Linked DNA regions of Homo sapiens: all the other regions are linked to region 4. Evidence: promoter capture Hi-C in human tissues and cell types (Jung and others, 2019). All regions are on one chromosome and are shown on one strand. The core of a region is centred on a gene start or on the middle of the fragment in contact, and the rest is flanking DNA. Distances in the headings are between cores, read along the strand shown. Region 1 overlaps PIK3C2G (phosphatidylinositol-4-phosphate 3-kinase catalytic subunit type 2 gamma). Region 2 overlaps PIK3C2G (phosphatidylinositol-4-phosphate 3-kinase catalytic subunit type 2 gamma). Region 3 overlaps PIK3C2G (phosphatidylinositol-4-phosphate 3-kinase catalytic subunit type 2 gamma). Region 4 holds the start of CAPZA3 (capping actin protein of muscle Z-line subunit alpha 3). Region 5 overlaps PLEKHA5 (pleckstrin homology domain containing A5). Region 6 has its middle 5.7 kb from the start of PIK3C2G.

The links. Contacts are between HindIII fragments. The study calls those that stand out against the background at their distance.
Region 1: a contact is called between a fragment that was not itself captured here and the fragment with the promoter of CAPZA3 in region 4, in 2 of the 25 tissues and cell types used here (dorsolateral prefrontal cortex and mesenchymal stem cells).
Region 2: a contact is called between a fragment that was not itself captured here and the fragment with the promoter of CAPZA3 in region 4, in 1 of the 25 tissues and cell types used here (mesenchymal stem cells).
Region 3: a contact is called between a fragment that was not itself captured here and the fragment with the promoter of CAPZA3 in region 4, in 1 of the 25 tissues and cell types used here (spleen).
Region 5: a contact is called between a fragment that was not itself captured here and the fragment with the promoter of CAPZA3 in region 4, in 1 of the 25 tissues and cell types used here (IMR-90 fibroblasts).
Region 6: a contact is called between a fragment that was not itself captured here and the fragment with the promoter of CAPZA3 in region 4, in 1 of the 25 tissues and cell types used here (dorsolateral prefrontal cortex).

Annotation. Positions count from the first base shown.
Region 1 is chr12:18,400,999-18,403,869 of GRCh38, reverse strand. The region is part of intron 16 of PIK3C2G (phosphatidylinositol-4-phosphate 3-kinase catalytic subunit type 2 gamma); the gene reads right to left. Among named protein-coding and RNA genes, the nearest start is that of PIK3C2G, 140 kb to the right of the region's middle. The HindIII fragment of the contact is 4,316 bases long and covers 1-2,871 here.
Region 2 is chr12:18,424,281-18,427,406 of GRCh38, reverse strand. The region is part of intron 18 of PIK3C2G (phosphatidylinositol-4-phosphate 3-kinase catalytic subunit type 2 gamma); the gene reads right to left. The region is part of intron 2 of LOC124902891 (a long non-coding RNA gene); the gene reads left to right. Among named protein-coding and RNA genes, the nearest start is that of PIK3C2G, 160 kb to the right of the region's middle. The HindIII fragment of the contact is 5,095 bases long and covers 1-3,126 here.
Region 3 is chr12:18,448,172-18,451,225 of GRCh38, reverse strand. The region is part of intron 18 of PIK3C2G (phosphatidylinositol-4-phosphate 3-kinase catalytic subunit type 2 gamma); the gene reads right to left. Among named protein-coding and RNA genes, the nearest start is that of PIK3C2G, 190 kb to the right of the region's middle. The HindIII fragment of the contact is 6,030 bases long and covers 1-3,054 here.
Region 4 is chr12:18,736,635-18,739,379 of GRCh38, reverse strand. It overlaps CAPZA3 (capping actin protein of muscle Z-line subunit alpha 3), which reads right to left and starts at 1,261. Exons shown (of 1, transcript NM_033328.3): 1 at 192-1,261. The coding sequence starts at 1,111. The coding sequence ends at 212. It overlaps PLCZ1 (phospholipase C zeta 1), which reads left to right and starts at 1,368. Exons shown (of 15, transcript NM_033123.4): 1 at 1,368-1,448; 2 at 1,871-2,019. The coding sequence starts at 2,009. The HindIII fragment of the contact is 1,043 bases long and covers 806-1,848 here.
Region 5 is chr12:19,136,695-19,139,503 of GRCh38, reverse strand. The region is part of intron 3 of PLEKHA5 (pleckstrin homology domain containing A5); the gene reads right to left. Among named protein-coding and RNA genes, the nearest start is that of PLEKHA5, 8.4 kb to the right of the region's middle. The HindIII fragment of the contact is 4,345 bases long and covers 1-2,809 here.
Region 6 is chr12:18,254,438-18,257,166 of GRCh38, reverse strand. It overlaps a transcript of PIK3C2G not described here. Among named protein-coding and RNA genes, the nearest start is that of PIK3C2G, 5.7 kb to the left of the region's middle. The HindIII fragment of the contact is 4,949 bases long and covers 1-2,729 here.

The sequences.
Region 1 (2,871 bases), core at 252-2,751, 340 kb after region 4:
TTCAGGAAAATAGCAACCATCTGCCAGGAACCACAGACCTTAGCCCTTGGTCTCTGTTTTCCTGACAGCACCCCCTTCTCTAATGGAAGTTATCAGTACCCAGGGAGCTCTCTGCTGGCACTCAGTAGTAGAAATATTAACACTGTATGGCCCATCCTAGGTAAATTAAATTTCATCATGCCTCTTGCTAAAATTAAAGTAAAAGGAGATGGTGAACCTTTGGACAGATTAAGTAAATAGCAATATTAAAAACTCCCCAAGCTGGAAATGGAGCACACCAGTTGTCAAGAGGTTAAACCATTTAAAAAAATAGATTGTTCAAAGGAGGAAAAATATAGATCTCTCAAGTACTCACTCTGACAACTCACTTAATAAGCACATACTGTTTGTTCTCAGAAAAGTCAGCTTTTTAATTTAGAGGAGTTGAAAGGTTCATTTCTGGAAACAGCTTGTCCTCAAGTTTTTTAATAGTTCAGTAAAACTGAGAGTGGGAGTCAGAGGATGAGTACAATGGAAATACTCCAACATTTGCAGTGACCTTATTTGGTGCATGATAAGAAACTTTCCAGTGTGTAAATAAATCAGGATTCTACTAAGTTCCCTGAATGAAGTTTAATAAACACCTTCTACTTTAAAATCAGTCCCCATAACCTCTAAAAATCTGATTATTCAGAAAAAAAGAAATTACACAGTGAAGTAGAAACATCTGAGCATGACCGAGATCGCTAAGTGCTCCTATTTACAATTTTAAAAAACCGTTTAGGATAGCCAAGATATTTCATATGTAAATAGCCTAGCATGTTTATGCAGGAAGGCTTTAAACAGAATGGTTCAGATTATAAGCTCTCATGAATGCCTGGATTTGATTCCCAGGTTTTCAACTTACAGGGCACTTGAGGCAACATAACCTCTATAGGCCTCAGTTTCCTCATATGTAAAATAGGAATAATAATAGTATTTCCATCATAAGGTTGTTATGGATGTTAATATGAGATAGTACTAAGGGGCACTAAGTAAAAATTTTATCTGGACACATAAAACATTGAATGAGCCAAACAGATTTTGAAGATCTGTTTAGATAAAGAAGACTCACGAAGCATAATTCTGCTTAGTTATCAGGGATCAGAGGATATTGAAGTTCATCCAGCTAATCCTCTTATTTAATAAGTGAGTAAACAGAGCAGTATTACAATCTCATTCTATTAAAGATTTTTCTAAAAAATATTCCATGAACTTTAAACTTTGGAAAGTTATCTTGTTAGAAAATTATTCTTTAAAGATATTAGAGAGATTCATAGATATTACCTTCACAATTATTTTCTCAAAAATTTTAAACACCTTTACCACGATATTGAAATACCATACAATCCACCCCATTTAAAGTGCACAATTCAATGTTTTTAGCATGTTTCCAGATTTGTGCAACAATTATATCAATTATAACCACAAAAGGAAACCTCATACCCATTAGCAGTCAATCTCCATTTTCTCCCAACTTGCCCTCGCTCTGGGTTACTGCTAATTTACTTTCTGTCTGTAGAGCTTTGCCTATTCTGCACATTTCATACAAGTGGAATCATACCATATGTGGTCTTCTGTAACTGGCTTCTTTCACTTAGCATAATGCTGTCAAGGTCCTTCCATGTTGTAGCATATATCAGTATTCATTCCTTTTTATTATCAAATAATATTATGTTGTATGGATAGATCACATTTTACATATCTATTGATTAGTTGGTGGATATTTGGATTGTTTCTACTTTTTGGCTATTGTGAATAATGTTGTTACAAACATGCGTGCATGAGTTTTTGAGTGGGCATATTTTTAAATTTATCTTGAGTATATACTTCATAGTAAGATTGTTGGGTCATATAGTAACTCTGGGTTTAACACTTAAGAAACTGTCACACTGTTTTCCAATTGGCTACACAATTTTGCATTCCCACCAGAGGTAAATGAGGTTTCCAATTTCTCCATATCCTCATCAACACTTTTTATTTTTTGTCCTTTTTGTATCTTTTGATTATAGCCAGACCTAGTGAGTATGGTATCTTAGGTGTTAGGTGATTTTCATTTTTATTTCCTTAATGGCTAATGATATTGAGCATATTTTCATGTAAATGTTCGGCATTTGTGTATTTTCTTTGGAGAAATGCCCATGCAGAGCCTTTGTCCATTTTACAGTTGGGTTATTTATCTTTCTATTGTTGAGTTTTAAGAGTCTTTATATGTTTTGAATAAAATTTCCTTGTCAGATATTTATTTTCTCTTATTCTGTCAGTTGTGACTGTCACATTTTGAATGAATTCTCTATTAGTTAATCAACTCAAGAATGACAAAATAATAATTGTGCTAATAGCCCAAGTCTAACTTCAGCAAAAACCGGCTAGAATTTAGCATAACAATTTTACAGATTTTAGCTGTTCTTACATCTAAACCAGAAAAAGGGGTAGGATCATGTTGGGAATGAGACCTTTTTTCCAAAAGGATCTTTAAACACTAGCATGATGAATTGTGAATATCCCAATGAAACCAATCAATTGTTAATTACCACATGACTATTTTATTAACTAATGCAACTGCACAAAGTCATGTAGGAAATAAATAATAATGATAATATCCTCAAATTGCTTATAATTTAAAGTTAAACTACTGTAAAAATAATAATAATGCATCTTAGAAAGTGATTGGTTCAATACTGAGGAATTACTACGTCCTAGGTAATACTAAGCCTTCAGGAAACAGAAACATTGAGATGATCTGTTTTGCCTTGAGTAGCTCTGAGTCAGATGTGAGTGAAAATATACACATTTTACCTGTTGCATATAAACACATTACCATAAAATGCAATGTGTAAAGTAACAGAGCAC
Region 2 (3,126 bases), core at 440-2,939, 310 kb after region 4:
GCCTCCTGAGTAGCTGAGATTACAGGCGCCCGCCACCAGGCCCGGCTAATTTTTGTATTTTTAGTAGAAATGGGGGTTTCACCGTGTTGGCCTGGCTGATCTCGGACTCCTGACCTCAGGTGATCCACCAGCCTTGGCCTCCCAAAGTGCTGGGATTACAGACGTGAGCCACCACGCCCGCCTAAAACATTGTCTTTTATATATTTTATACTTTATATATTTTTATATTTTTGTTCAAATATTAAAATAAAAATTGTTATCTGGCTATGTTACTTTTTTAATATGTGTGCATTTTAATAATGCATGCAAAAAACAGTAAAGTTTTAAGGGAATTAAACATTGAGTTTAATGGAGTCTTACATTTAATATGACAGCAGAACACCACAAAGTGTATCCACTTAACTTTCCTTTGCCCCAAAGTAGCTTTCTGAAAAACTGAAGAAAATAAGACTTCATTCAGAGCTTTAATAAGAGTCTATTCATGGAAGGGCCTCATGCCAGTCAATGTATCTTATGTTTTATTATAATAACATGCTAGAGGAATTGTTCTGCTTTTTAAATTAGGCATTTAAAATGAAAATAAGCATCAAATCAAACAGTCTCCGACCAAGTTCCTGTGTATCTTCTTTGCTACATCTTCTTGAGTGATTTTCATGAGAAGAGTGATCTCATTATGAGTAACATTTCTTGAAGCAGAAAAATATGACACTCCAAAATGATATTGACTTGCTGTTTTCCTGTTATTTAGTGGTCTTAACTATCAATCAAAGCAACTAAATGATGCCTGTCATACATTCAGGAGAGTAAAACATAGATCTAATTTTATCCTTAGGTCATTGAAACTTATAATTGTTAAAACTTTGTCCTATGAAATTAAAATTGAATCAACAAGGTTAACAATACAAAGGAAAGTAGGAAGAACAGTATGCAAAGAATATTATGTTCAATAGAATCAAGTGTAGGTGATAATAGGATAAATCGTTTTTTGAAAACAGGATTGGAACCAAAATTTGTTTTTAATAAGTGAGTTTTTAACATTAGAAGGATTTTATTCTTAACTCTCAATTATATAATCACAAAAAAAAATCAATGTTTCAGGAAAACACACTTAATCCTAACATAAAATTCATGTCACTTATCACAAAGTTAGATAGTCAAGTGTATAAAGGAGAAACAAAACAGAAATAGTAATTTTAAACCACATGAGACATCGCAAAGAATTTTTTTTGTTAATAAACAACCCATAAATACTTTTACATACTACATTTCAAAAATGATGCATCTATGAATAATATGATAAAGGTCATAGTGTTGAAGACTTTAAATTCAAGGTCATCATGTTGAAGACTTGAAATTAAATTCAAGGTTGTAGTGATGAAAAATTCAAAGTCAAGGTCTTGATGACAAAGACTTTAAATCCAAGGATATATTGTGTAAGAAAGGACAAACCACTAGCATTCAAGTTATTTATCCAATTAGTTCTCTGTGAGTACAAAATATAAGAAATCACTACATGGATTGGCCTAATTAGAAATTTTATTTCATTTATAAATAACTCTTAACTTCAGGAAATCTTTTCACAGAATCATTCAGTCACATGGTATTTATCTACCCTTGTGTAGGTATTTCTGCTACACTTTAAATCCTTATTCAAAACAATTCTCTCTCCATTTCTCTATGTTTTTAAGTATAAAATATTTTAAAAGGAAGAAATGTCAGCTGGGCTTGGTGTCTCACACCTGTAATCCCAGCACTTTGGGAGGCCAAGGCAGGCAGATCATGAGGTCAAGAGATGAAGACAATCCTGGCCAATGTGGTGAAACCCTGTCTCTACCAAAAATACAAAAATTAGCCAGGCGTGGTGGTGTGTGCCTGTAGTCCCAGCTACTCGGGAGGCTGAGGCAGAAGAATCGCTTGAACCAGAGAGTTGGAGGTTGCAGTGAGCTGAGATTGCACCACTGCACTCCAGCCTGGTGACAAAGTGAGACTCCGACTCAAAAAAAAAAAAAAAAAAAAAAAAGAAATGTCTGTCCTTTAGCTAGAGAAAAAAAGCAACCCATTTCCTTCTTTACTTCAAAAACACAAAACAAACCAAAACAATCCAATTCCTAATGTAATGTCATACAGAACACAGGGCCTGGAACAATATTTCATTCTGGTTTTCCTGCTATATGCTGAGAATAATTTAGTTATTTACATTATTGAGAAATCTATTTAGCAGACTAGAATCATCCCAATGCTTCCATCAGCAGAAGGCTTGCTAAAAAAGGCACGAGCAGTGGCATCTACAAATGGGAACATCAAAGACTCTACTCTCTCTTTCTCCTCATCTTCTTCTGATTCATCCATATCTGCTGAATCATCATCAGCATCATCATTATCATTTTTTCTCCTCCCCCTCATCTTTCTCTTCCATCTCTTCATATTCATCAGGACCCATTTCCAATCATACTATAGACACCCTGAACGTTGGACATGCCATATGGAATTGGAGAATGGCAACATTAAAGATATTTAAAGTACAGGAAATGGTAGGTATAATACCCTTCCATATATCGTGGTGTTGTAGAGAATGTGGTACAGCTGCTCCAGTCATATACCCAGCCTGGGCTGATGACTGGAAATTCACAAGCTAATCCAGGTCCTTGAACTTCTTCTACTTCACCTTTAGCATTCGTTAGTCTCCACTAGCAACTGTCCAACTGACAAGCCTTCTCAGGAATAGCATCTTTTGACAATCTTAATTCGGTGTGTGAAGGAATAGTGGGGTTGATGTACAGAAGCTAAGTTCTGGCAGAAACTATGGGGAAACTGAAATGCTAATATCCTCAGGTGTTGCTATAGACATTCTGGCATCTTATGAATCAGTCTTATTTCTTCACTAATAATATTTCAAATTTATGCTTTGGGAAAAGTTTAGTGCTCTAGAAATTTTCAACAGAATGAGTATACATTAGCCTTTGAATTTTATGGTTTATAACTAATATTGCACAGAAAGTATTTTTATACCACATATTCTTCCAAAAACATTCAGTCTCATAACTAGATTTTACATTAAAATCTTCAAGGAGTAGATATACAAATTGCACTTGTCATTTAAAGCTACAAGAAAGGCATCATTCAGAT
Region 3 (3,054 bases), core at 37-2,536, 290 kb after region 4:
TGGAATGAAATTCCATGCTCATGGATAGGAAAAATCAATATCGTGAAAATGGCCATACTGCACAAAGTAATTTGTAGATTCAATGTTATTCCCATCAAGCTACCATTGACTTTCTTAACAGAATTAGAAAAACTATTTTAAATTTCATATGGAACCAAAAAGGAGCCTGCATAACCAAGACAATCCTAAGCAAAAAGAACAAAGCTGGAGGCATCGTGCTACCTGACTTCAAACTATACTACAAGGCTACAGTAACCAAAAGAGCATGGTACTGGTATCAAAACAGATATATAGACCAATGGAACAGAACAGTGGCCTCAGAAATAACACCACACGTCTACTACCATCTGATCTTTGACAAACCTGACAAAAACAAGCAATGGTGAAAGGATTCCCTATTTAATAAATGGTGTTGGGAAAACTGGCTAACCATATGCAGAAAACTGAAACTGGGACCCCTTCCTTACACCTTATACAAAAATTAACTCAAGATGGATTAAAGACTTAAAATCTAAAACCATAAAAACCCTAGAAGAAAACCTAAGCAATACCACTCAGGAACATAGGCACGAGCAAAGACTTCATGACTAAAACACCAAAAGCAATTGCAACAAAAGCCAACATTGACAAATTGGATCCAATTAAACTAAAGATTCTGCACAGCAAAAGAAACTGTCATCAGAGTGAACAGGAAATGTACAGAAGGAGGGAACATTTTTGCAATCTACCCATCTGATGAAGGTCTAATATCCAGAATCTACAAGGAACTTAAACAAATTTACAAGAAAAAAGCAAACAACAGGCAGGACTGGTGGCTCACACCTGTGATCCCAGCCCTTTGGGAGGCTGAGGCGGGTGGATCACCTGAGGTTGGGAGTTCGAGACCAGCCTGGCCAACATGGTGAAACCTCATCTCTACTAAAAATACAAAATTAGCCAGGCGTGGTGGCACATGCCTGTAATCCCAGCTACTTGGGATGCTGAGGCAGGAGAATCACCTGAACCCAGGAGGTGGAGGTTGCGGTGAGCTGAGATTGTGCCATTGCACTGCAGTCCGGGCAATAATAGCAAAACTCCATCTCAAAAATAAAAATAAAAAACAACGCTATTAAAAAGTGAGCAAAGGATATGAACAGACACTTCTCAACAGAAGACACTTATGTGGCCAAAAAACGTGAAAAAAAGCTCATCACTGGTTATTAGAGAAATGCAAATCAAAACCATATGAGAAACCATCTCATGCCAGTCAGAATGGCGATCATTAAAAAGTCAGAAAACAGCAGATGCTGTCGAGGATGTGGAGAAATAGGAATGCTTTTACACTGTTGGTGGAGTGTAAATTAGTTCAACCATTATGGAAGACAGTGTGGCAATTCCTCAAGGATATAGGACCAGAAATACCATTAGTGGGTATATACCCAAAGGAATACAAATCACTCTGCTATAAAGACACATGCACACGTATATTTATTGCAGCACTATTTATAATAGCAAAAACTTGGAACCAACCCAAATGCCCATCAATGATAGACTGGATAAAGACAATGTGGCATACATACACACCATAGAATACTATGCAGCCATAAAAAAGAATGAATTCATGTCCTTTGCAGGAACATGGACGAAGCTGGAAACCATCATTCTCAGCAAACTAACTCAGGAACAGGAGACCAAATACCACGTCTTCACTCATAAGTGGGAGTTGAACAATGAGAACACATGGACACAGGGAGGGGAACATCACACATTGGGGCCTGTTGTGGGGTGCAAGGCAAGGGGAGGGAGAGCATTAGGACAGATACCTAATGCATGTGGAGCTTAAAACCTAGATGACGTGTTGATAGGTGCAGCAAACTACCATGGCACATGTATACCTACGTAACAAACCTGCATGTTCAGCACATGTATCCCAGAACTTAAAGTAAAATAAAAAAAATAATAAATAATAAAAATAAAAAAGAGTTATATGCAAACAAAGCTATAATGATCAAAGCAGTATGGTACTGGCATGAAAGCAGAGACATAGACCAATGGAACAGAATAGTGAGCCTAGAGATAAATGCAAGCATATATGGTCAAACTAACTTTAAACAATGGCACCAAGAGGACTCAATACACTGTTGGTGCAAATGTAAATTGGTACAACTATTATGGAAAACAGTATGGAAGTTTCTCAAAAAATTAAAAATAGAACTACCATATGATCCAGCAATCCCTCTTCTAGGTATGAACCCAGAAATAAATAAAGTCAACCCCTCGTAGAGATATCTGCAGTCTCACATTCATTGCAGCCTTATTCATAATAGCCAAGAAATAAAAACAACTTAAGTGTCCATCAGTGGTTGGGGAGGATGGATAAATTAATTGTGGTGGAGATATATCTCCACCACAATTATATATATATGTGTGTGTATAATATATACATATAATTTGTTTCAATATAAGATGTTTTCAATTTGTAACAATATTTCATTATATATATAATGATACAAAATATTATTCAGCCTTAAAAAAGGAAATCTTGCCATTTTCTACAACATGGATAAACTTAAAGGACATTACATGAAATAAGCCAGACACAGAAAGAAAAATACTGTACAATTTTACTTTTATGTGGGATCTAAAAGAAAGTCCAACACATAGCATGGTGGTTGTGGGATGTGGACAGGGAGAGGAAATGGGGCAATGTAGGTAAAGGGAACAGAGATGCAGTTGTATATGCTGCATAAGTCTAGAGATCTAACGTACAACATGAGGACTATAGTTAATAACACTGTATTGTATATTGATCATTTTAAACACGTAGATTTTAAGTGCTCTTATCCCAAAATGGACCATAACTATGTGAGATGATTAATATGTTAATTTGCTTGGCTATAGTAACCATTTCACTATGTACATCAAAACATCATTGTGTGTATATTAAACATATAAAATAAAAACAAACAGAAATGAATTATAGGTATATTCTTTCATACTAATATATTCCATTACAAAACATACACAAACTGAAATCAAATTAAAAAGAGTAAGAGAGAGGAAATACTATTCAAA
Region 4 (2,745 bases), core at 12-2,511:
ATGATGGTCACCACCATGAAACACAGTTACTTTACACTTTCTTGCCTTGTTCATAAATATTCCCCAAGTAAAATTACTTGCTACACTTTTCCCATTTAAATTTGCATTGGCTAAGTGAGAGACATCTCTACAGATTGCTCAATTTTAGGAAAATAACCATTCCCAAGAAACACAAACAAGTCAAATCAAGATAGTTACCAGGAGCAATTCTTTATATTATCCAGTTGCACAACACACTTCTTGAATAAATGACATATCCTAATTTAGGATACATCACCAGATTCAAGTCAGAGAGTATCCTGTGCCAGTCAATAAGAGTGCGGGTCACTGGAAGATCCCTTCGTAGAATTTTTCTCAGGGCTTCATTGGATAACTCCTGTAATTCTTCCAAGACTGCAGCTTGAAATTTGTTCTCTTGCTCTTCCACAAGCCTTGCAAAACTTAGAGCCAGTTGAGCTTGGTTAACTATTTCCAAGCTTTCTTTCAGGTCCTTGGATATTTCAATATGAAGGTTGACACACCTGAAGAAGTGAGCTTGCACAAATATTCTTCCCGTTACTTGGGTTAGAAATGGGTTAACTTGGAAAATCCATTTAGATTTCCAAAGTCCGTTCCAGCACTCTCCTGTTTCATAGTTGTGATCTTCAATGCAAGCTATCAAGTACTCCTTACTTTTGACAGTTTTTCTCAGCATGTTGCAATTTCCTTTTGGATAGTGGTCATTCACATACAGTTTTAAGGCGCACAGAAGAACAACTCTCAGGTATTCTGCCTCATTCTGAATGATACCATGACTTTGGATGTCTTTCAGCTGATTTTGAAGCAGGTCATATTTGAAAGAAAGTTTGCTTTGATGGTCAAAAAATCGGTAGTCGCCCATTACATTGTGGTGAGACAAGAGTACTGGATTTCCATCGATGCAGAGTGGTACAGAATATTTTTGGCAGTGTTGGTGGCCTGCACACTCACCTTGGTGGTGCATAAGTTTTTCATCACGGATAAGCAGACAGAGATCATCAAAGGCATTTACAAATTCCCCTGGAGGGGCCTGTAATAACAGTCTGCGAATTACTCTTTCCTTGTCCTTCCTGCTCAGCACGCTAAGTGTCATGTTTGGTTGCAACAGAAGCAAAGCTTCTGAAATGAGGAGTGTTCAAAGGATAAGAAAACATTCCATGAGCCACCTTTCCCATCAAGGTGTTAACATTCAAGCTGAAGGTTTTTATGTCTATCCATGAAAGCAGGCAGTCTGGCAAGGTCTGAGCCTCCTGATGAGGTCATAAGAAGCTTTCCTTGTGAAGTGTGGAACCTCTGATGATATCACAATGGGAATTCAGACCAAAAGGAAAAAATGACAGTCACCTGACAGTGTGGTGCCCAGCCAACCAGCTATACCTCTTTTGAAGATTTTAAGAACTTAGCCTCCTGAACAGTCTTCTTCGAAAGTGGTGTGTCTCTGTGTGCATTATATGTTGTCAACGATCTAGAGAAGCAGCCCAAAGTTTCAAGAGTGACAGCACTTTGCAACTTCAGGAATCACAATGGTGTTGATTTATACTCAGGCTCTCAGAGTAGCTGCCCAAACCCACTGGAAGCATATTATGATGAAAGGTTTGAGGGGTTTAAACAAAGTAGTAAAAAATAAAAGGAGATACAATGGCAGTTCATGGAAAAATGCCAGACATCAGGGAAAGCTGTGTTTTCAAATATTGTGGGTTTGGAGGTGGTCAGAACGTAAGAAGCCAAACAGTTTCAAGGGCAGGGTAGTGCAGGTACCACATCTTGCATACTGTTTCTATGGTTAAGTGTGAGCTAGCTTCAAAGAACGAAGGCAAAAAAAACCACTGTGTGTTCTCTGCTTTCTCCCTAGAAAAGTGGTAACAGCTGATGAGTATCAAGAAATTATTTTCTGCAAAGGGGCAGAGTTAATTGTATTTGGAACCCATGACAGCACCTACTGGGGAAAGACTTCTAAGTGAGGAGAAACGGCTCTACAGGTCATGAAACTATGGAAATGAGATATCCATTGAGAGCTTCTTTCTGCTCCTCTTCTTCTTTCTCCTACTTATCCTCTTTACTTGATGCTGTTATTCTTTTCGAGGAGTTCTGAATTTAAGTCCTCTTCATTTAAGTTGAACTGCTTTTCCCTGTTTGTTCTGAGCTTTTCTAACTTTCCCTGCATTCTGGTATCTTTTTCTTACAAGAACATGAGCTTTGCTGGATTAAGTCATAACTATTAAATTTAAGGAGATCTCATTAATTCGTTCTAACAATCTGAAACTTAGTAGTTTTGCACAATTTTTACCTATACCTTTTATAATTTTAGTGATAATTGTCATTATCTCATTTCGATCTTAGTTTTTCAAATGGAAGTGTCCTAGTTTTTGTAGTTTATCTATGATAAGTAAGCTTTTAAAAATTTTTTTCGTTTTTCATACCAAATATACACTCACCATGGTATTTCTGATGCTTTTTGATGGTACTGTCTTGAGTGTGTGTGTAGCTGGGCATTGGACTAATGTAGTAATAATAACTTTATCAGTCATGGTTACTATTTATTGAACACTAAGTAGCAGAAACTGTGTTCGGTGGCATATTAGGAATTCATCTAATGCTTCCACTTTCCTTAAGATTCAGGGTTAATTTGCTCACCTTTCTGGAAGAGAGAACTAAAACAGAGAGGTCAGGTGAGAGGCGATCTTGAAGTCTAGCTGCCTTCCAACTTCATGCCTTCAGGCAATAGAT
Region 5 (2,809 bases), core at 55-2,554, 400 kb before region 4:
AGATGGATGAATATGAAATTCCCAGCCTGAATCTATAAATAGCTAGATAGTCATTTAGGTAGCTGAGATAGGATAGGGGAGTGGGTTGTGTTTGCTTTTTGAGGGGAGTAAAAAGATAATGTCAGGAGTCCTTTGTGAAAGTCGGATTTTAGCCACCTGAAATGCTATGTCCTCTCAAGCAGCTCAAAAACCAAACCACCATTAATATGTCCACCTGGGGCTCCCCCTCCCACACCTACTCCTTTATTCCGGTCAAGGGTCTCATCATCATTCTTGTAGACACTCAGACACAAAGGCTTTGAGGAGCTTTTGACCTCTTTTTTTCTGTCAACCTCCTTGCTCAGCAAGACTCCTAAGGCCTGTCAGCTCGTCTTTAACATCTTTGATCAATGGCCTTTCCTTTCCATTCCCGCTGCCACAAACTTAGTTCAAGTAACTACCCAATTATGGCAACAGACTCAGAAATGGTCTCCTTGATTCCCACTTTGCTCCTGTCCAATCCATGCTGCCTGTATTGAAATCTCCCTAAAACCTTCATGTTGCATAATTAACGCTATACTAAAAAACATCTGCAAAGGCTTGCCCGGAAAATAAAAACCTCAGCCTGACATTCAAAGACCGGACACAGTATGGTTCCAAACAGCATTCCTAGACTCACCTCCCATCATCCTAGCATTTTCTACAGAACCATCACTAACAAGCCTAGTTAGTATTACTCATCACACATATTCACATATTATACGTGTTCCCAGCCCCATGAATGTATCCTCCCAGTCTTATCAACTCATCTGAAAGTGAATCCCATCTATACCCTCAGGCCTAGCTCAACTCCCACCTCTTCAAGTCGTTCCAGGGCAGCCCAGCCTAGGCTGCCTCTTCCTCCTCTGAATTCTTATGACTCAAACTAGCATCTTCTTTTTTTTTTTTTTTTGAGACAGAGTCTTACTCTGTCACCCAGGCTGGAGTGCAGTGGCGTGATCTCGGCCCACTGCAACCTCTCCCTCCTGGGTTCAAGCGATTCTCCTGCCTCAGCCTCCCGAGTAGCTGGGACTACAGGAGCCCGCCACCACACCCGGCTAATTTTTGTATTTTTAGTAGAGACAGGGTTTTACCATGTTAGCCAGGTTGGTCTCAAACTCCTGACTTCAAGTGATCCGCCTGCCTCAGCCTCCCAAGGTGCTAGGATTACAGGCATGAGCCACCATGCCGTGCCATTTTTTTACACCATTAACTCTAACTTACACATACACATATACACATAACTTTTCACCCTTAATTTCATCTTATATTTATCTGTTATTTAAAAAAATGAAACAGTCACAAGAAAAGAGCATCTGCTAACAAATTCAAAGAAATTCCATCCTGTATAGGACAGACAGGTCCTATGTAAGGCCCTGTCTCCAGGTCATCGACTCTTCAACTCTTCCAATACTTTTTGTGTTTTTGTATTGACCACTTCCTCCCCCTTCCTAAATATAGGCCAGCTTTGAGAATAAGAAGAAACGAAGGGGTCTATCCAGATTAGGGAAGAAAAAGTCCCTTGACAAATCCAGAAAGTGTTCTTAAAATGCAACCACTTGAGTTGTGGGGACTATTCTTTCCCCATCTTGATTAACTCCTTAAATAACTAGGAGCCAGCATCATCATCATCACAGATACCACTTCTTTAGAGGCTGACTAGATGCTGGGCATCACAGGAAATACAAGGAGGATATTGAGCAAACCTGGCCCTAAGCAGTGGTCCTGGGGCTAAAAATAAAAGAATTCCACAACAAAGTCTACTGAGGCTGGTAGTCCTGGCACACCAACTTGAAAACGAAAGAGACAACAACAACAAAAAGGCTATTGTGAGGATTATAGGAGTTTAATGCTATGCTGAAGTGCCTAGCACTAAATAAGTCTATGTTCCCCAAACCATCTCCCTGTTTTAATATACTGCATATTTATCTCTACACTACAAACTCCTTGAAAGCTGAGATCATAGTTCGTAGTTGTTTTGTAACTAATGAATTAGCATAAAGTGCTTTATCAATGTAAGGAATCACATATTAACAGTCCAAAACTCTTGTTATAAATATGGAAAAGAAATATAATGCCCACAAAGTGTTCTAAAGAATTATATAGCTCTAGTAATCAAAATTTGGTTATATTATTATAGAAAGTATAAAACAGTTTTTGGCCAGGGGTGGTGGTAATCCCAGCACTTTGGGACGCCGAGGTGGGCGGATCACCTGAGGTCAGGAGTTTGAGACCAGCCTGGCCAACGTGGCGAAACCCCTTCTCTACTAAAAATACAAAAAATTAGCCAGGCGTGGTGGTGGTGGGCACCTGTAATCTCAACTACTTGGGAGACTGAGGCAGGAGAACTGCTTGAACCCGGGAGGTGGACGTTGCGTGAGCTGAGATCATGCCAGCCTGGGCAACAAGAGTGAAACTCCGTCTCAAAGAAAAAAAAAAAGTAAAGTATAAAACAACTTTAAATATCAAATACATAGTTAATATATTCTAATGTTTTTTATGGCACTTGTTAGATTCCCCATCTTCATTCATATTTTGAATTGTGAAAATCTGAAGAAACAGATTTTTCTCCTTACTTGCAACGCTAGTTTTGGTAAGTTTGGAATTAGCATACATTAGATCCAGCTATTGCAGATATTGAAACAAAACCTCATACTCTATTTGCCTATGTAAGAAAAAGTTCAATTTTCAGAACTTAGAATTTTAAGTTAAAAAAAGCAGTATGAAAACATAACCTTAAAAAATTTGCATACTATTTTACCCCCGCAAATATTGTTTTGATACCCAGTCC
Region 6 (2,729 bases), core at 93-2,592, 480 kb after region 4:
GACCATGTGTCTAAGCTCTAGACCATGGAATTTAAACAGAACATATTTGGTACTTAAGGCTTTGTCCTTAAAGATTAAAGCATGCAATATTCTGGAACCTTTCCCTCTTTCTGATAGTTGTGTCAGGCATGGCAAAAGCTGTTTCCCTGAATCCAGAGACAGAAGTGACATATTGAGAACGGAAGAGTTGTCCTGCCAACAACAAGTAACCTACCACTTGATATTTAGTGAGACATAAATTTTTATCTAGTATAAAATGCTGTGTTTTAGGGTCTCTTTCTATGTTTTAATGACATCTAATCTTAAATGAAACATGACTTGGTTACTAGAAGTGTACTCTAGCATAATAAAAAAAATGAAGCTTTGGTCTAAGGATTGAGAGTGGGAGAGAACACAGATATTGCAGGCTAGAAAGTTAGTAATTCTCATTACTTTATGATAAAGCATTTCATAAAACTGTCATTTGCAATCCTTAAAAAGGGAGATTACTTGCCAGAAGAACACGTAACCTCTGTGAACTGCTGAGGAAGATTCTTGTGCAAAGTTCTGTGACAATACGTACTCGGGCTAGAGGTGACTCTAAAAAAGGAGGGCCGGCAGTAAATAGGCCTCTGACTTTTTCAAGTGCCCACATTAAAACCTCTCAGTTAATTGAAGTTCTTTATAGTTTCGAAGGTTAGGCTGAGAGTGATGCTTTCCTGCCTAAACTAATATTTTCAGGTAGCTTCAAAGTAGACACCCATAAACCGAAGGAGAGCAGAATGTGCTAAGCAAAGAAACCAGTAAATAAAAGAAGATAGTCTGCGTGCATAGCAACACTGCCTGGGTTAGGTCTTTGGGTATGATAATTTGCCCATGGATCTGACTGGAAGCAACTAGATCAAAAGCAGACTAAGGTTTTCAGAGAATTGCATTGACCTGCAGAAGCCAATCTGTGTTTGACTTAAAGTATCTCCCATGCCCCACTACTGGTTTTGCAGCATATACATCACAAAATATGCGCAGCTCCAAAGAGAGAATATTTTCTAGTTCTTTCTTACAAAATAATTACAGGGTAATTAAATACTTCTGAGAATAAAATGGATACATATTTAGAATAGATAATTCATTTATTGAATACTTACATTACACCAAAACAATGTTTTGGTTACTATAGCAGTAATGGACAAATAATCTCATAGAGAAATGAAAATAGGAACCATAAGTAATAAGGGACAATAAATTCCTCCAAGATAACATAATTCTTCCTCGATAATCATGGAAATTATTTCACTGCCATAGCAGAAGAGGTCAAAAATCTTGTCCAGTGGTATTTGATCATTGCCTTGAAAAATGACAGCTGTGCTTTTCCTCTTCTTGTATACCTGGATATTTGGGTAATTGACTGCAAGTTGTTCCACAGTATTTTTTACCGTCTTCTTTCCTGATGATGGCTAACTAGCCAAAGGCCATCTTTTCAAGCCTTTCTTTCAACTAGATGTGGGCACCTTACTGGTTGCAGTCAGTGAAATATGGAGAGGAACGATGCCTGATTATTCTAGTTGTGTTCTTAAAAGAATTATCTGTGCGCTCTCCTGTCTGCTCCCTCGCCCTCAACACACACACCATCAACCAGTTGGGAGATAGTGAGGAAACCTTGCGCTGAACATGGCAAAGCTGTATTATAGGTTCTCAGTGTCATCTTAGATATAAAAGAAAGAAAGTAAAAACACAAGTGAGAGAAATTTTGTCTTGTTTACACGGCTGCATTTTGGGTACTTTTGTTATAGAATTAGATCAAAACTGTATTAACTCCTACAGTAGCCATAAATTCAAGTAATTATTGTTCTTAAAAAGTTACTTATAGAAAATAGAATCAGAATAGACTCAAACTATTTCTTTTTTTCTTTCATTTATTTGTTTGTTTGTTTGTTTATTTATTTATTTATTTATTTATTTATTTATTTATTTTTGAGACGGAGTTTCACTCATTGCCCAGGCTGGAGTGCAACGGTGCGATCTCAGCTCACCGCAATCTCCACTTCCTGAGTTCAAGTGATTCTCCTGCCTCAGCCTCCCAAGTAGCTGGTCAGGCATGTGCCCGACTAATTTTGTACTTTTAGTACAGACGGGGTTTCACCATGTTGGTCAGGCTGGTCTCAAACTCCCAACCTCAGGTGATCTGCCCGTCTCAGCCTCCCAAAGTGCTGGGATTACAGGGGTGAGCCACTGCGCCCGGCCTGAGCCACTGAGCCCAGGCCTCTTTCTTTTTTTAAATTTTTAAGTGAAAATTTAAATTTTTTAAATTAAGAAATTATTATTATTATTATTATTTTGAGACAGAGTCTCACTCTGTCACCTAGGCTGGAGTTCAATGGTGCAATCTTGGCTCACTCCAACCTCTGCCTCCCGGGTTCAAGCAATTCTCTTGCCTCGGCCTCCCGAGTAGCTGGAGTAGCTGGAACTACAGGCACATGCCACCATGCCCAGCTAATTTTTGCACTTTTAGTACAGACTGGGTTTCACCATGTTTGCCAAGATAGTCTCAATCTCTTGACCTCATGATCCACCTGCCTTGGCCTCCCAAAGTGCTCGGATTACAGGTGTGAGCTACCACGCCCAGCCCAAACTGACTATTTTTAGGTGCAGGTCCAAAATGAGAATATTACAAATATTACAAAAACTTGATATTAAAAAATTATAATAAAATATATATGTTTATAAATAACTTTCCCCAGAGAATATGAAAA